2 separate regions of the Homo sapiens genome follow, and region 1 is linked to region 2. The links are contacts of gene promoters, found by promoter capture Hi-C in blood cells and fetal thymus (Javierre and others, 2016). All regions are on one chromosome and are shown on one strand. The core of a region is centred on a gene start or on the middle of the fragment in contact, and the rest is flanking DNA. Distances in the headings are between cores, read along the strand shown. Region 1 has its middle 46 kb from the start of MINAR1. Region 2 holds the start of ZFAND6 (zinc finger AN1-type containing 6).

Region 1 (5,612 bases), core at 432-2,931, 670 kb before region 2:
TCTGGGGCATGATTCAGCCCAGAGAAGAGATCGGAGAAACCTACCTCCCATCATCAAAGAGCTCCTGGATGTTCCATCAAGCAAAACTGTGGGAGGAAATTCAGTGTTCCTATGGAGATGGTGGTGTGACCTGAGCTGGCTCAGAGGTTCTAAAAGCTTCTTCTCAAACATTGGCAAGGTCACAGGTACCCAATAAGGTACATCTTCCCTTTCCTTCAACAGTCCAAAACCTCCAGAACTCTCTCGAGGCAGTGATTAATACTAAACAAAGGACTTGAAGGATAGGAGGGATTCTGAACAGGGTAGAAATAAATAGTAGTGTGGGATATTCGTATAGTTTTCTTGGAAGAGGTAATATTTGAGTAGGATCTTGAAAAATGAGTAGACGTGTAAATGCCACAAGTAAAGGCAAAGATATATACATCATTGTCGGAATAGGAAAGAGTGTGGCACATCTGGGAATGATGAGGGGCCTTATGCAGCTGGGGGAGTCTATTGGTCAGACATGAGGCTGGAAATGGTGCAAGGGCTAGATAGGGAAGGGCTTCATATGCGATGCCAAGAGGCACAGACTATGCTGTGATTCCCTGGCAGTATAGCTGGTGGGACAAAGAGAAATCAAACTCAAAAAGTTCCCCTCTTGTCTACCATGTGTATACTCAAGTAGGTGATGAGATTGTAGGAAGAAGGTAGGATATAATAGCAGATAATTGGGTAGCCATATAGAAAAATCAAATAAAATTTGACCTTTACCTTATAAAACATATTTTTAAAAACCCAGTCTGGGTGTGGTGGCTCATGCTTGTAATCCCAGCACTTTGGGTGGCCGAGGTGGGAGAATCGCTCGAGCCCAGGAGTTTGAGACCAACCTGGGTAACATAGTGAGACCTCATCTGTATAAGAAATGAACAGCAGAGGGGCGAAGATGGCCAATTAGAAGCAGCTGCAGTCCGTGGCATTCACGGAGAGGAATGAAAGGCGTGAGTGAATACAGCACCTTCAACTGAAATATCCAGGTTCTCACATTGGGACTGATTAGGGAAACAACTTAACCATGGAGAATGAAGAAGAGCAAGGTTGGGTGATGGCCCACCTGGGAGTGACACAGAGCTAAGGGAAGTGGTGAGTGATTGTGTGACCCTGGAAAAACATGCTTCTCCCACGGATCTTTGCAACCTGTGGATCAAGAGATGCCCTTGTGAGCCCACACCACCAGGCCCTGGGGCTGACACACAGAACTGTGTGGAGTCTTGGCAGAGTAACTGCTCAGGCATGCACAGAGACCCAGCAGCTTTATATACTCTGGCCCTGGGATCCCCATCAGATGTGTCTAACTCAGGCAAGGTGAGAGGTCCGCACCTACCCCTAGGAAGGGGGGCAGAATCCAGGGAGCTGATTCTGTGGGTCCCACTTCCACAGCACCTCACAAATTCTTGGGGCTCCATCCCATCTCAAGCAGGCTCCACCCAGTTGCCGGTGGCTGGCTGGAATGTCAAGCCAGTGGATCTTACTTTGTGAGGTGCTGCACCTGGGAAGGTGGCTGCAGCTGCACCTGGGGAGTTCCCATCCCACCCTGCTGGAAGGAGCAGGACTCCTGCTTGTCTCTGGCTCCTGCCTGCTCCCTGGAGTGGAAGGCCCAGGTCTGCAGTCACTGGTTGGGTGCCTGCAGCTGCACCCAAGAGGGCAGATCCTGCCTGTTCCTGGCAACCTCGAAGAGCACAGGTAGGCTCAGATCCACAGCCACAGTTTGGGCAGGGGTCCATTCTGCTCCCTAGAGCGGGAGGCCTGGGTCTGCAGCCACACTTTGGGTAGCTACAGTGGCACCTGGGGAGCTGAACCCCCAACTTAGAAGGGGCAGAGCTCCCACTGGCTTCATGGAGTGTGCAGTGCCAGCCGCAGCCAGTGTGATAGCAGCAGCCTCTGCCATCATTAGGTACTATTTATTATCTTGATTTTACAAATGATAAAACAACTGTTGGATTTCAGCCCAGGTCCACCAGAATCCACAGTCTTCATTTAACCCCCATGTTCTACAACACTAGACCAGGGGAGAAATTTGCACAGAAAGTAGTATGAATAATGGAGGCTGGGAATCAGAGAAAGTAGACAGAGAAAACAGGCTTAAAGGACTGAATGAATTACAGATAACCTGTATTTTCCAAGGGCTGGGGGCTGGAGGGAGGAGCAATTAGATTTTAATGGGTACGGAGTTTCAGTTTTGCAAGATGAAAAAGTTCTGAAGATCTATTGTCTAACAATGTGAATACATTTAATACCACTGAACTGTACACTTAAAAATGGTTATGAGGGTAAATTTAATGTTATGTGCTTTTGACCATAATAAACAAAACAAAATAACTTGTATTCACTCTCTGCAGGTGAGGGGCCACTTTTCAGAGCACTCTCCTCATCTCTACCTCACTAGGGCTTTGCAGCAAAAAGTTTGTCTGATCATTTTATGTTATTATATGCTACATTGTTCCTCATTGAGTATATGCTGCTGCTTCTTTGACTATATGTCCTCCTGCTTGGAGGTTTGGCTTTTCATTCTCTAAAAGGGGTATTTTGATGAATAACAGTTTTTAAATTTTTTTATTTTCAAGATGGAGTCTCACTGTTGCCCAGGCTGGAGTGCAGTGGTGCGATCTCAGCTCATTGCAACCTCCGCCTCCCAGGTTCAAGCAATTCTCTGCCTCAGCCTCCCGAGTAGCTGGGATTACAGGTGTGGGCCACCATGCCTGGCTATTTTTTTTTTTTTTTTGTATTTTTAGTAGAGACGGGGTTTCACCATGTTGGCCAGACTGGTCTTGATCTCCTGACCTCATGATCCACCCGTCTCAGCCTCCCAAAGTGCTGGGATTACAGCCGTGAGCCACTGTGCCTGGACTTTAAATTTTAATGTAATATAATTTATCAATCTTTTTTGTTTATGGCTAACACTTTTCTTTTCTTTCTTTCTTTTTAATCTTTTAATCTTTTTTTTTTTTTTTGAGACAATGTCTCGTTCTGTCACCCAGGCTGGAGCACAGTGGCACCCAGGCTCACTGCAGCCTTGAATCCTGGGCTCAAGCGATTCTCATGCCACAGCCCCCTGAGTAGCTGAGATGACAGTTGCATGCCACCATGCCTGGCTAATTATGGCTTCTACAAAATGCCAAACATTCTCTGCCCCCAAATTAGGAAGAGAGTCTCTTGCATTTCCACTAAAAGCTTTAGAATTTTGCCTTTTATATTTAAGTCTATAATCCCCCTGGATTGTTTTTAGTGTTTTAGAAAGTAAGGGTCCAATTTTATTTGATTTTTCCATATGACTACCCAATTATTTCAGTTTCTTATTGAAAAGATTATATGTCCCCCTCTGCTTTGCAGTCTTATATTTGTCATGAATCAAATATCTACATATGTGTCAATCTGTTTCTAGACTCTTTATTTCCATTCATTAGCCTATTTGTCAATCCCTGTGCAAATACTACAGTGACGTGATAATTGAACCTTTATAAGTGTTGACATTTTGTGGGACAAGTCCTCTCACTTTGTCACTTTCATGGGTGTCTTGGCTATTCTTAGCTGTTTGCATTTCCGTGAAAATGTTAGAAACATCTAATGAAATTAAAATACACACACACATGCACCTGCACACACACACACACACACACACACATACACACACACAAGTATTATAACCCTGTTCAGATTTTCCCTGGGATTACATTGAATCCATAGGTTGATTGGGGGAGAAATGACATCTTTGCAAGACAGTTTTCCAATCCATTCCTTTCCATTTACCTGAGTCTTCTTTCAGTTTCTCTCAATAAAGTTTTATATTTCTGTTCATGTGAGTTTATACATCTCTTCTTGTCTGGATTCCTACATACCTGATACTTCTTGATGCTATTATAAGTAGAATTTTTTAAATTTTCATTTTCTGTTTGTTGCTGGCATATAGAAGTAAAATTGATTTTGTTTTCTGACAATTTTGCTAATCTTTCTTAATTATTAAAAATATTAAAATTAACTTTTAATGATTCACCTACGGTACTTCTGGGCAGTCTGTGAGCACAATCATAATATCTGAAAATATAGGATTTTTTTCCATTCCAATCTTTATATATTTTATTTCTTATCTTACCATTTTAAACTGGCATGATGCCCAGTAAAGTGATGAATAGGACTGGTGATAGTGAGTGAATATTTTTGTCTTTTTCCCAATCTCAGAAGGAAAAACCTTCAGTATTTTACCATTAATTATGATGTTTTCGGTAGCCTTTTCTTTCTTTTTGGTCTATCTCTTTAGACAATAGGGAAGTAATAAAAGGGAAGTCTGCTTTTATTCCAAGTATACTAAGAGCTTATCTTTAACCATTAATGAATGATGAATTTTATAAATGTTTTATTCTATTTTTTGAGATGATCATATTATCATGTTATTTTTCTCCCTTAATCTGTTGACAAGGAGAATTATGTTTTTTTTTTTAAGACGGGCTGAGTAGTATTCAATTTTGTATATACATATACCACAGTTTCTTTATCCACTCGTTGATTGATGGGCATTTGGGTTGGTTTCATGATTTTGCAATTGCAAATTGTTCTGCTATTAATATGCATGTGCAAGTATCTTTTTTGTATAATGACTTCTTTTCCTCTGGGTAGATACTCAGTAGTAGGATTGCTGGATCAAATGTAATTCTAGTTTTAGTTCATGAAGTAATCTTCACTCTGTTTTCTATAGTGGCTGTACTAGTTCCTACCAGCAGTGTAAAAGTGTTCCCTGATCACCACATCCCCACCAACATATACTGTTTTTTGGTGTTTAGATTATGGCCATTCTTGCAGGAGTAAGGTGGTATCACATTGGGTTTCGATTTGCATTTCCCTGATCATTAGTGATGTTAAGTATTTTTTCTATGTTTGCAAGCCATTTGTATATCTTCTTTTGAGAATTATCTATTCATGTCCTTAGCCCACTTTTTGATGAGATTGTTTTTTTTCTTACTGATTTGTTTGAGTTTGTTGTAGATTCTGGATATTAGTCCTTCGTTAGATGTATAGATTGTGAAGAATTTCTCCCACTCTGTGGGTCGTCTATTTACTCTGCTGACTGTTCCTTTTGCTGTGCAAAAGCTATTTAGTTTAATTAAGTCCCAGCTATTTATCTTTGTTTTTATTGCATTTGCCTTTGGGTTCTTGGTCATAAAATCCTTGCCTAAGCCAATGTCTAGACGGGCTTTTCCAATGTTGTCTTCTAGAATTTTTATAGTTTCAGGTCTTAGATTTAAGTCCTTAATCCATCTGGAGTCGATTTTTGTATATGGTGAGAAGTGAGGATCCAGTTTCATTCTCCTACATGTGGCTAGCCAATTATTCCAGCACCATTTGTTGAAAAGGGTGTCCTTTCCCCACTTTAAGTTTTTGTTTGCTTTGTCGAAGATCAGTTGTCTGTAAGTATTTGGGTTTATTTCCGGGTTCTCTATTCTGTTCCATTGGCCTATGTGCCTGTTTTTATACCAGTACCATGTTATTTTTGGTGATTATGGGCTTATAGTATAGTTTGAAATCAGGTAGTGTGATGCCTCCAGACTTTTTCTTTTTGCTAAGTCTTGTGTTGGCTATGT
Region 2 (5,414 bases), core at 1,608-4,107:
CTAGCCAGGCATGGTAGTTTGCACCCATAGACCCAGCTACTCAGGAGGCTGAGGCCAAAGGATCACTTGCAAAACTTAAGGGACACACAGTAGCTTAATGGTTGCCTAGGGGTGGAGGTGGGCCATGGATTGGGGGAAAGGGGAATGTGACTGCTAATAGGTACAAGGTTGTTTTTTTGTTTTTTGTTTTTTTTTGAGATGGAGTCTTGCTCTGTCACCCAGGCTGGAGTGCAGTGGCGTGATCTCGGCTCATTGCCACCTCCGCCTGCCGGGTTCAAGTGATTCTCCTGCCTCAGCCTCCCAAGCAGCCGGGACTACAGGTGTGCACCACCAAGGCTGGCTAATTTTTGTATTTTTAGTAGAGACAGGGTTTCACTGTGTTGACCAGTCTGTTCTCTAACACCTGACCTCAAGTGATCCACCTGCCTCGGCCTCCCAAAACCCTGGTATTTACAGGCATGAGCCACTGCACCCTGCCAAGGTTTCTTTATAGGGTGACAAAATGTTCTGAAACTGATTTGTGGTGATAACTGCACCACTGTGAATATACTAAAAACCACTGAATTGTATAATTTCTTTCATTTTTCTTTTTGTTTTTTCTTTAATAGGAGACAGAGTCTTGCTATGTTGCCCAGGCTGGAGTGCAATGGCCATGATCCCATTACTAATCAGCACAGGAGTTTTGACCTGCTCTGTTTTGGACCTGGGCAGAGTCCTCTTTCTTAGGCAACTTGATGGTGCCCCCCACCCTCTGTGGACACCAGTGGGTACAGTGCACTACTGCCCAGAACTCCTGGACTCGAGCAATTCTCCCAGCTCACCCTCCTGAGTAGCTGGGACCACCGGCATGTGTCACCGCGCCCAGCAAATTGTATTCTTTAAAAATGGGTAAGTTGTAATGATATGTGTGTTAAATCTCAATAAAGCTTGAGTTTCTAGCTTTAATAACTGGAAACATGGTGTCACCATTAGCCAAAATTGGGACTACAGGAGGAAGAATGTGTTTGGGGGAAAATAAGCCTTGGACATATTGAATGGCTGTGATAAGCACACAGTGAATGTCCTGCTCTGGAACACAGGAAAGAAGATGGGGCTGGAAATAATAATGCATACACAATCATTTATTGAGCATCTGTTACATACCAGGTGCTGTGAATATGTTGTTTATGTACACTGACCGGTAGGTTGCGTATGTATACTGTTTATTGTTTCTGCTCCCTCTCTTCCCCTGTGTAAGTCAATGAGAGAAGGGCCTTCATCTTTCTTAATGCTGTCTCCAGCACCTACAGCACAGGCTGGCAGAGAGTCGGCATATAGCATTTACTGGGTGAATAGAAATGCAGTATCTTTTAACCCTCATAACAATCCTTTGTGGTAGGTTTTCGTTCCCATTTCACACAATTTTCTTAAGAGCACAAAGCTAGTAAGTGACAGTGGTCTGTCTGCATTCCACGTCACAATGCAATACTATAATCTCTCAATCTCCCAGAACGAATCTGGAACAAAGGAAAGCAGTAAAGGTCATGTAAACCCAATTTCTGCAAATTCATAATAACTGCATATGAAAATCCAACTGGGTTAGGTGCTGGAGTTAATACAACGATAAACTGGACAAGAATCGGAAGAAAAATACATTTAAGACAAAATCCGTAAGACTTGACGCATAACCTTGCTAGTTCAAGAAGCTCTTTCACACATATTATGTTATTTAACCCCCACAAATAGCCTAACAAGTAGGTTTTATTACCATTCCAATCAGGCTTTTGTCCTCCACTTAAACTGTACTCCCCAAGGTGACTTCTGTGTTGCTAAATGCTCAACAGGTACTCACTTCAGGCACAACATTTAAGGGAGCACCAAAAAACTAAGTGATCAAGATGAATAACATTTTTATTTTTTAAAATTAAAATTAATGCAAAAAAAAAATCCATGAATAACAAAATACCAACATTTAAAATAAAGAGGATTCTCAGGACTGGGCTCGCCTACCTGGATGCCCTAACGGAACTCCTCATTCACAATAGGATTGAATGACCTCGAACTAAAGTGTCACGTACTTCCTGCTCGTGATGCTCGTGAGCCCGAACGAAGGCTGAAAAACTTCAGGGGGAGCCATTCTGCCTATCACCCCTAGTTCCAGCGCAGCAGCCCAGCGTGCACCACGCAGGTGGGAACTGACCCCGTGCTTTTGGAACAGGCTGGAACTGGGGGTGCTTGTGCCTGTGCATGTATGTATTGCACACGTGTGCATGCACGCTTCTCGTCTTGCTTCTATTTCCAAGTCCCAGTTCAGGACAGGGCAGAGAACTGCTTTCCAGTATGCGCCCTGAGCTCGGACTTTGCGCTTGCAGACTGAGGCGCCGGCCTGCATGGGAAGACAGAAGCTCAGAATTCCTTCCTGCACAAGTGGCAGGTGGAGTGCAACTCTTTTTGGTGCCTCAGTCCAAGACAGGGACACGCCATTCCCTGCGAGGTGGCAAAGGTACCTGAACCTACATAACCAAGCCCTTAAAGTCTCCGCGGCACCTCTTAATCGCCTTCCCGTAGCTATTGGAGGTAGAGAAACCGCGGCGGGAAGCGCCCCAGAGAGGGCAGTGGAGCAAGGGACACTGGAGGTGCAGAAGGCGGAGGAGCATCTCCTTTCGCTCCGCCCCGCCTCTTTTCCTGCCTCCGGCCAATTGCCGTGCGCTCCGAGCCTTGACCCCGCCTCTCCCCGCCTCCTCCGGCCTGCGGCCCCGCCCGCGCCGGTAATAATTAGCGGGCGGGCGGGGCCCGCGCGTCAGCCGCGGGAGCCGGCCAATCCAGTGGCTCTCCTCCGCGGTCGCGTCATAGGCCGAACAACCAAACAGAAAAGTTTAATAAACAGCGGACGGAGGGGCCGGCGGTGGCGGAGCCGGAGCAAGCAGGGGTTCGGCGGCATTACCTGTACCCATTCACCGGCGGCTACCGGCGGCGGCGCGCAGCGTGTCAGGCGGAGAGACCCGCCGCCAGGTGAGGAGCGCGGCCCGCGGGGCCCGGCTTGCCCGGCGCTGCCCCTCCCCCGCCTGCTCCCTTCCCCCACCCGGCTGCAGCTAGGCGAGGCCCGCCCCCGGCCCCTCCCGGCGCCCGAGAGCCGGAAGCGGAGGGCGGCCGGCCGGCGCAGCAGGTGGTGGGCCCGCGGGGGCCGCGGGCGAGAGGGCGAGGACTCCCGGCTCCGGGGGTGGGGGCCGGAGATCGGCGGGTTCACCTCAGACGGCGCGCGGGCGCCCGCGGCCGGGGGCCGCTTCCTGTCAGGGTGGTCGCGCTGGGGTCGGGAGCCTCAGTTCTTCAGGGCCGCGGAGGCCGCGACGCGCGCCGCCCCGAGCGGGTTGCGAGCGGTTGGCTGGCGGGGGTCGGAAGGGCCCCGGGCACACTGGGGCGCGTCAGTTCCCCGCCTCCTCCGAGTCTCAGGTCCTCTTCGGGATGTTTTTCCACCTGCGGCGTTTTTCAGAAACCAGCCGGAGGCAGCCCGGTGTCTCCAACTCCTGACTGGCACCGGGAAGGGAATTGGTCTCTTTTTTTCCTGCTTGGGTTTAGCTTGCTTAGGATTCTAAATTTTTTGTCTGCTTTTTTGAAATAGTTATATTTAAGTTTTAGCTACCTAAAAAAGTATGAAAGAATATTGTGTTTGAAATCTTTTTAACTTGGTTTTTAAGTCACGTGCTAACTATCCTACACAGTTGGGACGCTATGATTTACCTTCACATCTCGGAAGTTGTAACCAGTTGTGAGGAAGTTAGGACCTTGGGGTTACCTAAAGATAATTTATATTAAGTTGTTGGGCCATAAAAACTGGGCAGAATTGGCCACGCGCGGTGACTCAACGCCTGTAATCCCAGCACTTTGGGAGGCCGACGCGGACTAATCACGAGGTCAGGAGATCGAGACCATCCTGGCCAACATGGTGAAACCCTGTCTTTACTAAAAATACAAAAATTAGCTGGGTGTGGTGGCGGGCGCCGGTAGTCCCAGCTACTGGGAGGCTGAGGCAGGAGCATCGCTTGAACCCGGGAGGCGGAGGTTGCAGTGAACCAAGATCGCGCTACTGCACTCCAGCCTGGCGACAGAGGGAGACTCCGTCTCAAAAAAAAGCCGGGCAGAATTAATGATTTTGAAGCTCCGAGAAACAGGATTAAATTCCTCTTTCAAACCGAAATCGGAATTTGATTTTTTAAAAGTGTAAAATACCATAAACTTTTAAGGTTAGTTGTTCGGTAACCATGTCACCAATTTTAAGGCACTTTCTGAGTTGTGTATAGTTTCTCCAGAGCCCTAGGGGAAATGTTTTGCAAAATATGCACGTTTAGCTTTCCAAAACAAGTTGTCTTTTTTATTTTTACTTTTTTACGTTTTAAAATGTGTTTAAAGGGAGACATCACAAATGTGCAGGAGAAAATACAGGGGTCGGTGGATTTATTATCTTGTAGTGATAACTTTTTGGGTGTATGCATATGTCAGAACTTACACGTTTTACACTTCAAATATGTGCAGTTTATTGTCAACTATATGTCAGTAACGTTTTTAAGAAGTAACCAAAATATATTTAATACTACCAAAAAAAAACACGGTAAAGTATAAGCAGATAAAAACATCATAAATCCTTGATGACTCCCCCCAAACCCAAAACTGGAACATTACTAAAACTTGCATTTGTCTATGAGTTTCTTATCTGTGCAGTGGATTTTGTGTATGTCACTTCCTTGACTTTTTGAAAAATAGTTTTATCATATATGTTTGTATGCCGAAACTGTGTGGCATTTAATTTGTTTTTCTTTTGAGCTTTATAAAAATAGTATGTGGCTGTAGTTTATTTCATTGCTTTATGATATGTTAATCTGCCATAACTTATGGGCACTTCGACCGTGTTTTTATTGTTTTTTATTTTGTTTTGTTATAAGCAGTCTTGCTCTGTGAACATTTCTTGTTTCCGGCTCTTGGTACACAAGTACAAGAATTTCTCTAGAGTAAATACTTAATGTGGATTGCATTAGACGGTATTAGGTAATCAGGACTAGAATAGATTGAATTACTTAGAAATAAGATGAATGAAAAACATTAGGATTCTCTATTATGTTTAAATAGAAGATTCATAGCCGTAGTGATTGAACTAGTTCAACCTAGTTGAACATTTGCATGAAAACCCAAAATTCCTGTTAACCTATGTGTAATGACTCTCTTACTTTGAAGTCACATTGTAAAAAGTCTGGCACTGTTTGGTATCTCCTTTTCAATGCAAAAATAGTATAGTAGAAAAAACGCTGGATTGTATGTAAAATAAATTATCCTTTCTGCTGTTCCTCTCCTCCCCTCTAATCTCTAGCAAATTACTTAAAAATTTCTCTTGTGCCTTAGCATACTCATGTAAAAGAAACTTGTCCTAAGCTTATCCTTCCACT

Evidence for each region. The method cuts DNA at HindIII sites, captures the fragments that hold promoters and counts their contacts. A CHiCAGO score of 5 or more calls a contact.
Region 1: a fragment that was not itself captured here is called in contact with the fragment with the promoter of ZFAND6 in region 2 in 4 of 17 cell types (naive B cells, total CD4 T cells, total B cells and 1 more); the score reaches 8.0 in naive B cells.

The regions. Positions count from the first base shown.
Region 1 is chr15:79,383,960-79,389,571 of GRCh38, forward strand. It overlaps a transcript of TMED3 not described here. Among named protein-coding and RNA genes, the nearest start is that of MINAR1, 46 kb to the right of the region's middle. The HindIII fragment of the contact is 3,054 bases long and covers 155-3,208 here.
Region 2 is chr15:80,056,819-80,062,232 of GRCh38, forward strand. It overlaps ZFAND6 (zinc finger AN1-type containing 6), which reads left to right and starts at 2,858. Exons shown (of 7, transcript NM_019006.4): 1 at 2,858-2,991. RefSeq lists silencers at 2,536-2,864, 2,561-3,430. The HindIII fragment of the contact is 4,474 bases long and covers 925-5,398 here.